Regions from separate parts of the Homo sapiens genome. Here region 1 is linked to region 2. Evidence: promoter capture Hi-C in 16 types of primary human blood cells and fetal thymus (Javierre and others, 2016). All regions are on one chromosome and are shown on one strand. Each heading gives the region's core, a stretch centred on a gene start or on the middle of the fragment in contact. The rest is flanking DNA. Distances are from core to core; before and after follow the strand shown. Region 1 overlaps LOC105370866 (a long non-coding RNA gene). Region 2 holds the start of INTS14 (integrator complex subunit 14).

What was found. The method cuts DNA at HindIII sites, captures the fragments that hold promoters and counts their contacts. A CHiCAGO score of 5 or more calls a contact.
Region 1: a fragment that was not itself captured here is called in contact with the fragment with the promoter of INTS14 in region 2 in 7 of 17 cell types (M2 macrophages, activated CD4 T cells, naive CD8 T cells and 4 more); the score reaches 8.3 in M2 macrophages.

What each region holds. Positions count from the first base shown.
Region 1 is chr15:65,845,139-65,850,918 of GRCh38, reverse strand. It overlaps LOC105370866 (a long non-coding RNA gene), which reads right to left. Exons shown (of 3, transcript XR_932372.2): 2 at 1-55. Among named protein-coding and RNA genes, the nearest start is that of TRQ-CTG1-4, 21 kb to the left of the region's middle. The HindIII fragment of the contact is 9,163 bases long and covers 1-5,780 here.
Region 2 is chr15:65,609,206-65,614,677 of GRCh38, reverse strand. INTS14 (integrator complex subunit 14) reads left to right here and starts at 3,547. Exons shown (of 12, transcript NM_001394796.1): 1 at 3,547-3,580. It also overlaps a transcript of SLC24A1 not described here. RefSeq lists an enhancer at 3,470-3,629. The HindIII fragment of the contact is 5,572 bases long and covers 1,869-5,472 here.

The DNA.
Region 1 (5,780 bases), core at 718-3,217, 240 kb before region 2:
TAAATATTTCAGCAGTAACCTTTCCATTTTTCATTCAGCTTTTTGCACTTGTAGCCTAAGGAAGACAAAGACATAAATAATTCAATGAAAACACTTTTAAGTATTCTGATATTGGCAGTAAGGGTTGATTTGGGGGGCAAAGGAAGAGTGTATAAAAGCTACAACATCTGGAGAGCTTTGTTACTGAGTCTTTTCATTTTTATCCCCATCCTGCTTTGTGTGGTAAAGTGCAGTAGAATCCCATTACAATTCCATGCGTTATCATATACACAACAATGTAACATGGACTGAAGTAATCATCAAAACAAATTTAAGGCCAGGCGCAGTGGCTCACGCCTGTAATCCCAGCACTTTGGGAGGCTGAGGTGGACAGATCACTTGAGGTCAGGGGTTCGAGACCAGCTTGGCCAACATGGTGAAACCCTGTCTCTACCAAAAATACAAGAATTAGCCAAATGTGGTGGCACATGCCTGTAATCCCAGCCACTTGGGAGGCTGAGGCACAAAGAATCGCTTGAACCCGGGAGACGGAGGTTGCAGTGAGCTGAGATCGTGCCATTGCACTCCAGCCTGGGCCTGGGCAGCAGAGTAAGTCTCTGTCTCAAAAAAAAAAAAAACAAAAATTATTTAATAGAACTAAATCCTAAAGCAGTTATTAGCCATTCTCTCCAGTGTCAGCTATTTAATTTAATTTAATTAATTAATTAATTTTTTTTTTCTGAGATGGAGTCTCGCTCTGTCCCCCCAGGCTGGAGTTACAGTGGCATGATCTCAGCTCACTGCAACCAATCCTCCTGCCTCAGCTTCCTGAGTAGCTAGGATTACAGGAGTGTGCCTCTACGCCCAGCTAATTTTTGTATTTTTAGTAGAGACAGGGTTTCATCATGCAGGCCAGGTTACTCTCGAACCCTTGACTTCATGATCCACCCATCTCGGCCTCCCAAAGTGCTGGGATGACAGGCGTGAGCCACCACACCTGGCCAACGTCAGCTATTTTAAAAGACTTCACTATAAACCCCGTTGGACAAATTTTATTTTTTACATTTTCCATCTGATTATTCATTGATCAGACATTTTCAGAGAGATAGATTCTTGTCTCCTTCCCTCATCCCATTATTTCATGCTGTAGTGTCATGAATGGTGTTACCCCTCAACCCCTGAGGGAAGATCGGTATAGAGGAGACAGTGTTGAAGTGCAGCAGCAAATAGAAATTTGACAAACACGAAATCCTCATTATTCCCATATTTCCCACATAAGGCATTTGACATTCTGGTGGAATAACTCACCAGTGTAAACTAGGGGACCAGAGACTGCCCTTGTTAGTTTTCTAACCCCATTGGACTATGAGTTACAATTCTAGGCACGTATACTATCTTTTACCCTGGCTCTACCCTGTAAGGAAGATATTATGATGACAAATTTGCAGATGAGAAAACCAAGATTCAGAAAGATGTACACAAGAGCAAACGCTTAAATGTGGTAGAGCCAGGATCTGAACCCTAGCGCATCAGTTAGGGCTATTTTGGTTGCAAACAAAAAGAACTGGCTAAGTTCAGCCCAAAAAGGGGGCCTTAGTCAGAGGGATATTGAGCAGCCCCCAGAATGAATAGGAAGCTGAAGGAGACATGCTAGAAGAAGGGCTGCAGGGATGACCCCATCCACAGTCTGGAAAGAGTGAACTCAATCTGTGACATTTCCAGTCACCAATTCTGTCTCATGTCAGAGTCCCACATTCTCTCCCCACAAGATGTAAGTATGCTTCATTATGGCTTTTAAAAATTGTGGTAAAAAATATACAACATAACTTTTGGGTTTGGTTGTTTGTTTTGAGACAGGATCTCACTCTGTTGTGTGGGCTGGAGTGCAGGGGCACAATCACGGCTCACTGCAGCCTTGACCTCTCAGGCTCAAGCCATCCTACCATCTCAGCCTCCTGAGTAGCTGGGACTACAGGTGCACACCACTACACCCAGCTAATTTTTTATATATATATATTTTTTGTAAAGACGAGGTTTTGCCATGTTGCCCAGGTTGGTCTCAAACTCCTGGGCTCAAGCCATCCACCTGACTTAGCCTCCCAAAGTGCTGGGATTATAGGCATGAACCACCATGCCCAGCAGTATGTATATAACATAACTTTACCATTTTAACCATGTTTAAGTGTACAGTTCAGTGGCATTAAGTACATTCACATTAGCTTTGCAATTTCATTTTTGGCCTTTAGTTATACCTTTCAAATCATATATCTACAGAATCTGGGGAAGAGAGAGATCTTTACATACTAAGGTATGTAAATACAACTACAGGAACTTACCAAACACAAAATTAGGGAAATAGAGAAAAATTGATTGGAGGTAAGAGAGAGAAATAAACAGAGCAGGCAAGGCCCTCCTCTCTGGCACTCAGTGAATGTACACCCCAAGTGAACAAGAAGTGTAAACCTCAGGCACCCACAGGAACCTTCTGCTTCTCATAGTCGGGCATCTCTCCAGGCTGAGGGGGATTCTGAACTTAGATTTGTATTTTGCTATAATACTGTACCAAACACAAACAAGTACTTCTCCAACTATTAATAGTACCTGAAAAAACAATGATCTGTCCTAATGCTAGGGGAAAAACTGGGTGAGAGTTAAAAGATTGGGACAGCTTGAGGCCTTCCTAAAAGATTTCCAAAGGCAATTTTTATTATATTCAATGTTCATCTATATGCTGACCTTTGGACTTCACTCAGGTGAGATACTATCCCCTGTACATTTGCCTGGATTGCAGTAGTAGAGCATTAACTTATACCAAAAATCATGACATTGTAAAAAAAAAAAAAATGGTGAGTGGGAGTACAGGAAAAGAATGACAGACAGAAAGAAGTTCTTATTAGAGAATTTATGGGTTTCCTTGTTTGTAGGACACTCTATAGCAGCACTGTCCAACAGAAACATAATATAGGCCACATAAGTAATTTTAAATTTTCTTGTAGCTGCTGTTTTTGTTGTTGTTGTTGTTGTTGTTTTAATTACACCAGAGCTGCCAGTTAAAGCCACATTATTTTTTAAAGGAAAAAGAAACAGGTGAAATTGGCCAGGTGCAGTGCCTCACACCTGTAATCCCAGCACTTTGGGAGGCTGAAGCAGGCAGATCACTTGAGGCCAGGATTTCAAGACCAGCATGCAGAGGCCAACATGGCAAAACCCCGTCTCTACTAAAAATACAAAAATTAGCTGGGCGTGGTAGTGCATCCCTGTAATCCCAGCTACTCAGGTAGCCGAGGCAAGCAAATCTCTTAAACCTGGAGGCAGAGGTTGCAGTGAGCTGAGATCGCACCACTGCATTCCAGCCTGGGCGATAGAGCAAAACTCTGTCTCAAAAAAAGAAAAAAAACAGGTGAGACAAACAATATAGTTAATTCAACTTAATATATATCTAAATTTTTTTTTTTTGAGACAGAGTTTCACTCTTGTTGCCCAGGCTGGAGTGCAATGGCGCGATCTCGGTTCACTGCAACCTCCGCCTCCCAGGTTCAAACGATTCTCCTGCCTCAGCCTCCCAAGTAGCTGGGATTACAGGCATGTGCCACCAAGCCCGGCTAATTTTTTTGTATTTGAAGTAGAGATGGGGTTTCACCATGTTGCTCAGGCTGGTCTCGAACTCCTGACATCAGGTGATCCACCTGCCTCAGCCTCCAAAAGCCACCGTTCCTGGCCATATATTAAAAATATTATCAGGCCAGGTGCAGTGGCTCATACCTGTAATCCCAGCACTTTGGAAGGTTAAGGCAGGTGGATCACAAGGTCAGGAGTTTGAGACCAGCCGGGCCAATATGGTGAAACCCTGTCTCTACTAAAAATACAAAAAAATTTGCTGGGCGTGGTGGCGCATGCCTGTAATCCCAGCTACTCGGGAGGCTGAGGCAGAATTCCTGGAACCCAGGAGGCGGAGGTTGCAGTGAGCTGAGATTGCACCACTATACTCCAGCCTTGGTGACAGAGCAAGACTCCATCTCAAAAAAAAAAAAAAAAAAAAAAAAAATATATATATATATATATATATAAAATCAACATGTAATCCGTATAACAATTATTAAGGACATATTTTACATCTTTTTTATATTCAGTGTGTATTTTGCACTTACAGTGCATCTCAATTCCAAGTGACCACAAGGGTGACATGTGAACAAGGTGAAATGTGGTTAGTGACGTCCTTATTGGACAGTGCATGTCTTGAACAAATAAATCTGTCATTTTCTGGAAAGTTTGGTCTAATGGGCTAACATTTGAGGGAAAGATGTGGGAATATATATAGTTCTATATCAAAACTTCACCTGCCAGAGCTAACGAAGACTTCTTTGCATCCTAGATTTAAAAGTAGGCAATAGTCTGCCTGTTGACAGAGAATGCAAACCCAAACTAAACCCTATAATGCACCCTTTGCAAAGAGAAGCAGTATCTCCTGAGGCAGAACATAGATCAATAGTTTCCAATTCCCCAACAAGCAGTGAATCATTATGTTTTCATAAGGATAATTCACAGTGCATTCCAATCAAGTCTAAATTATAGACAACAAGTCTATTCTTCAAGCCTCACTGCCTTTCATCCCAGAGGAGAAAACAGAAACAGCTAACAGAGAAAGCATGAAAAAGTACTCAAGTATTGAACTGTTGATTTCATTTAAAACAACAAATCCTGCTTTTTACGACATAAAGGAATGAAAGTAGGAGCTCAATTTTTACTACTTTGAAACAAAATTGAAAAACTGAGCTGAAAGAGCTTTGAGAAAAATGAGACAGATTTTAAAACCGTGAACACCATTCTACTAATTCTGTGCCTACGTAATGCCAAAGGAAATAAAGAACTAATTTATTCATGTCCTTAGGCAGGCACTGCACACTCACACATGCACATGCATGCACACACACACACCCGAAAATTTTCTGCATCTGATGCAGAAATCTTGAGCTCAAAATTTCACATAAAAATTCTTCCAGCTAGGCGTTGTGGCTTATGCCTGTAATCCCAGCACTTTGGGAGGCCAAGGCAGGCGGATCACCGAGGTCGGCAGTTTGAGACCAGCCTGATCAACATGGAGAAACCCCGTCTCAACTAAAAATACAAAATCAGCCAGGCATGGTGGTGCATGCCTGTAATCCCAGCTACTCAGGATGCTGAGGCAGGAGAATCGCTTGAACCCGGGAGGTAGAGGTTGCGGTAAGCCGAGATCGCGCCACTGCACTCCAGCTTGGGCAACAAGAGCGAAACTTCCTCTTAAAAAAAAAACAAAAAAAACCCAAAACTCTTCCATATAGCCGGGCGTGGTGGCACACACCTGTAATCCCAGCCACCGGGGTTAGGAGGTTGAGGCAGGAGAATCACTTGACCCCGGGAGAAGGAGGTTGCAGTGAGCTGAGATCATGCCACTCGATCTATCTCAAAAACAACAACAACAACAATAAGAACAAAACAAAACAAAATTCTTCCATAGTTAGGGACATCTGCAGGGCCTTGGAAATAGCAAATTGTGAAACTGACCTATTAGAAACATCTTCAAATGGCACACATAACTCATTCGGAAACAATCCTGCTGCATAGATGCTCAAAGTGAAAAATTACAAATCACAAAAGGAGATGTCACCGAGAGACTATAAGAGGGAGAGGCAGAAACAACAGACAAGAAAATATATACCCTGAAAACTAAAAATAATAGAACAATCTACAGAGATTTTTAAAGAAGTTTCTCTAAAGTGTTTAAGGAATGGATACCTTAGGGCATAAACAGGGCACTATATTTA
Region 2 (5,472 bases), core at 2,298-4,797:
CTTTGTTCAGTGAGTCTTTTCATTATTTAAAATAGAGAGCAGCTTTGCGGTTTTCTCAAATGCTCTGGAAAAAACTGAAAGAGGATTGAGAGCAATTTTAAAAGGAGGGGGAGCACAGTTTTCCAAATACATTTCGAAGGAAAAGAGGGGGAAACCTGTGGATTAAAAGAGACTTCTGAGATATAGCAACGGATTTCAATATCTGGATCTTACTTGGATCCTGATTCAAATAACCAAAGTGTAAAAAAGTAAAATTTATGATATTTATGACACAACTGAATATTTGAAAGCTGATTCGATATTTGATGATATTAGGGATTTATTGTTAATTATGTTAAATTTGATAATGGTATTGTAATTATATATTTTTAAGTTCTCTTTTAAAGATACATAAGGAAATATTCCTGGATAAAATGTTATGCTATCAGGGATCTCCATCAAAATAATATGTGGGGAGAAGTCGGTAGGGGTGTACATGAAACGAGATGAGGATTGCATTGACAGCAGAAACTGGGTGAAGGGCACACAGGGATTTATTATCCTAATCTCCCTATCTTTGTCTATGTTTGAAAATTTCCATAATAAAATTTTTTTTCAGAAGACAGAAGGGTCATATTTATGATTGACTTCTGCTTTGGTGAAAATAGTGAAATAGGGAGGAGGTAATGATGAGAGGAAGGGGCTGGAGCTTGGAAGTATGATTTGGGAGTGAACAGTCTCCAGACTACAGGGGCAGAAAGGGAAATGCAGGGCAAAGGACATCATGGGAGTATGAGAAGAGCGGGAAGAATGCAAAAGAGAAGTAGGCCCACTGCTCTTCCCCCACCCCTCAGCCTTTTCTTCACTTACTCATTCCCTATCCCTTATCTCTGTAGATGAAAAATCATCTTGGGGCCAAATGTAGTGGCTCATGCCTGTAATCCTGGCACTTTGGGAGGCCAAGGAGGGAGGATCGCTTGAAATCAGGAGTTCAAGACCACTCTGGGCAACATAGTGAGACCCCCATCTCTACAAAAAATTTAAAAATTAGCCAGGCATGGTGGCACATGCCTGTAGTCCCAGCTACGTGGGAGGTTGAGGTTGGGGGGGATTGCTTAAATTCAGGAAGTCAAGGCTGCAAGAAGCCATGACCATGCCACTGCACTCCAGCCTGGGTGACAAAGACCCTGTCACCACACACACACACACACACACACAAAATCACCCTGGGAACTTAACAGCAAAGATTCTCAAGCACGAAGTCATGAAATTTCATTTCCATTTCACTTGGCAAGGTCTGGGAATCTGCATTTTCAACACGTGCTCTGGGAGATTGAGATATCTAGACTTCCCTTTGAGCTCCCCAGTACCTAGCCCCTGTGAGAGCCATGGTTTTTCTGTCATAAACCTTTCCTCTGTCAGACTGGGGATCAAACACTGCCTTTCAAAGCCTTTGGGACAGCAGTCCACTGTTTCAAGGCAGGAAAAAATAAAGGGAATGAGAGATTATGCAAAGGAAACTATTTATTGATTTCCTTTAATGTGTGTGTGGAAACACGCAAATGCTGAGGGTCGTTTGAGTGGGGAAAAGAAATTCATCAGCCAGTGATGGCTTGAAAGACACCCCCTTTAAAACCTTCTAACCTTTGTGCTGATGTTCTCTGATGTTATAGTCACTGAACAACCTTCTGATTTGTAATGGGATTCCACTAAGGAGGAAAAACAAACAAACAAACTAGTTGCCCTAAGTAACACAGTCCTCCTGGTAGCTGTGCCTTTTATCATCAATTTAATATATTGATTTTTTGCTTTCCAAGTCTCCCAAAGCCTGTTATTCAGAAGAACTAGGTCACAAGATTTGATCATCCATCAGTGAACTAACTTAAGCTTTAGGGTTGGGTAAGGTAATGAATCAGACCCTGCAACTGAGCCAGAATTACCACGAGGACAGTAACCCTATGGCTAAGTCGTTGTCACATTAGGGGTAACTAGACACTTGCTTACCCACACATTCTTGGCCACATCCCTCCCAATAGGGCAAGATTAGAAATCATGACTAAGTTATCAGGCTGCAGCCTTACTTACCTGGAGCCCAATGCCTGCTCAAGCATAACTAGGTCTTGACATGGTGAGATCAGCCAGGTTGGGGAAAGAAGTTTTGAAGCAAATAGGGCAGTCTGCAGGGCCCTGGCCCCAGTGCTGGCAGGGATATTCCCAGGGACAGGAAAAAACTACAAGCAACTGGCCCCACAATCTCCCACATAACAAGCTGTGAGAAGTCAGACAGATTTGTCTGTTCAGTTCAAAGCATCCTCCTTCCTCGTCCCATCTCCTAATCTCGCCCCATCCTATCAGCTAAAAGAAAAAGGCAAATGCCTGAGGCCTTCTAGAGGCCTTTCTGTACTCACTTTGTAACCTATGTGGTTCCACATTGTTCTTTGAACCGTAACTACCCAGGGGCCTGCTGGCATCCATCTAAGCCTATCTCTAGCTGGGATTCCCTGGCTCCCTACATGGTTAGAAAGAAAGTCACCTCTTGCCCTCTTAAGGACCTCACTGAGGCACAGACTACAATGGAGACACCAGGTGGCCAGAGTGGCAGGCAAGAGCCCATGTTGCCTTACAGGGAAATCTGAGCACGCATGCCTTGTCCAGGGTGAGAGGAACGAGGGCCCTCTGCTTCCCTCAAAGAGGGGATAGGGGAAATAAAGTGAGCATTTGGGCTGAGGAGACCAAGAGGCCAAGTCTTGAGGTAAATTGGGCTCAGGTCAGCTAAGAAGGATATACAAAGCATACCTCAGCCAGGAATTACAGTTTTGGGGTTTTTCCCCCCAAGATTCTCGTGCGTTAGCCTCCCAAGTAGCTGGGATTACAGGCACTCGTTACCATGCCCGGCTAATTTTTGTATTTTAGTAGAGAGCGGGGTTTCACCATGTTTCCCAGGCTGGTCTCAAACTCCTGACCTGAAGCGATCCGCCCACCTTGGCCTCCCAAAGTGCTGGGATTACAGGCCTGAACCACCACGCCCGGCCAGGATTTGTAGTTCAGGAATTGCAGTTTAAAAAGAACAGGAAGAGGATTCTGTCAACCGGTTCAGAGGATACGAGAGAGGGGGCTAAAGAGTGACGAGGAAAATAGCAGGAAGGGTTGGGCTCGTGCACCGACGGGGCCCAGGGGAGTGAGGGGACAAAAGTGTGAAGCGGACACAGAGTCACCGGGCCAGGTGAGGCCCATGGGTCAGTGGGGCAGAAGGGGAAGGAAAGAGCCCGAGAATGGGGAGAGATTCAGGGCAATGCAGAGAGACACGGCAGGAAACCCAGCCAAGGCTCGAGAGAAGTTGGGGATTTGTGGGAGGAGAGGGGTGGCCGCGGATTGGCCATCGCGAAGAGAGGCCGCGCCCCCTAGCGTCCCTCCGGGATGAGCCAGAACCCTGCCCGGGCGACCCTGAAGCTCTCCAAGGACCGCCCCGCCCAGCGCGGAGTGCAGGCGCCGGATTCCCTTCTGTCGCGCGGCCTTATAGTTCCGGCTGTGGCGCGCGGACGGAAAGTTTATGCCGACGGAAAGTTTATGCCGACGGACTGTGTCCGGCGATGGGCACGGGGTGAGTGGGGAGGCCGAGGGCCCGGGACTGCCTTTCGCTGCTTGTTGGGGTTACAGGTGAAGGGGTTATGGGTGAAGAACAACCCAGGGCCAGCGCTTGGCCTTCCCGCCACCGTGGCGGCCGCCCCGCGCTGTCTGTGAGGCGCCAGTTCCGGGGCGCTGCTCCCGGCCTCCCCTCGCTCTGAGGCTCGGGGTCCCCAGCTCCGCGTAAACTGCACGATTTCGCCCTCTGCTCAGCTCCCCTCTGCCCCCTCTTTCCAAGAGAGACTTCCAGATCCCACATTTTCTTGACTGATTTTTAAGGTAAAAATACATCTCCCAGATGTGATTTTCAGTCTGGACTTTTAGAGATGAAATTATATCTGAGAACTGGGGAGGGACTCCCGGAGGCTGACGGGAAAGCCAAAGAGCAGGTGAGGCACTAGAAATTCAGGTAGAATCCTGCTTTGAGAGCGAGACTGCTGAGAATCAGTTCTTTATGAATGAGCTAATTATCACCTTCAGGGAAGAATTACAAACGTCTAGCTGATGGACACTTGGTATTCAAGGCCAAATAGGTGGCTAGGGCCTATTTCTCAGACTGTTCCTGAGAAAGAAGAGCCCTAGTTGTTTGAACAGTACACGTGGGAAGGGGGTGGGGGTGGGAGACTTGGGGGCTCAGAATCCACCCAAGTGAGGAATACATAGTGTTGTGCTCACAAAATTGGTAGACTGTGGTGGGCAGGGATTCCCCCCCACCCAAGACGGAGTCTCGCTCTGTCGCCCAGGCTGAAGAGCAGTGGCGCGATCTCGGCTCACTGCAACCTCTGCCTCCTGGGTTCAAGCAATTCTCCTATTTCAGCCTCCCAAGTACTAGAACCACAGGCGCACGCCACCACATCTGGCTAATTTTTGTATTTTTAGTAGAGATGGGGTTTCACCATGTTGGTCAGACTGGTCTCGAACTCCTGACCTCGGGTGATCTGCCCGCCTCAGCCTCCCAAAGTGCTGGGATTAAAGGCGTGCCTGGCCTTTTTTTTTTTTAATCAGGCCTATACTGCTTGAGTGAACTATCCTTCAGGAACTTTCAGTTCCCTCCTTTACTCCAACCTGAGTACTAAATTGATCTCCCACGACTTTGTAACTGTTAATGAGGTGCATTTGGGAGTCGACACAAATGCATCACTTGGGAGAAAGAGCCAGCTCCAGAGGTGTCTTCAGAGAAGGCAAGACTGCCAGCTGTCATCACTGTCAACAGCAGATTTCACGGGCTGAAAGTGCTTTTTTGTATTTGATCTAAGTCTGTGTAAACTGTTTCCTCCCATTCTCCTAAGAGGTGAGGGCAGTACTCCTCATGATCCTCAACTTGTAAAAAGGCCTCCCTGCATGAATGGGACTACCACAGGAGCTGGGCAGACGTGAGGGAGTCCCCCATATGTCTGCTTGAATGAGGAGAAGAGGAAATGTGTTTCTGGTGTCCAGAGTTAACATTTATAATGTATTTTGCTAAATAATATATGGTATATCTGGTGATTTAGGGGTAGTTCATCAGTTGTTATCAAATTGTTGGGCACCTACTATGTGCCAGTTACTGTGATAAGTTTTGAGGAGACATCATGGGCAAAATGTGGCATGGTCCCTGCCCTTAGTGAGCGTATGTTATGGTCTAATATAGTGTAGTTGAACCAATATTGTGCAGGACCTCACTTTTTTTTTTTCAGTCGGGCCTATACTGCTTGAGTGAACCATCCTTCAGGAACTTTCAGTTTCTTCTTTTACGCCTATGCTTACAACCTGAGTTGTAAACATTGTTTCCATGAACCAGTGTATTCTGAGTTCGAAACAGCCTACTTACAAATGGAATTTTGGCTGGGCGCGGTGGCTCACGCCTGTAATCCCAGCACTTTGGGAGGC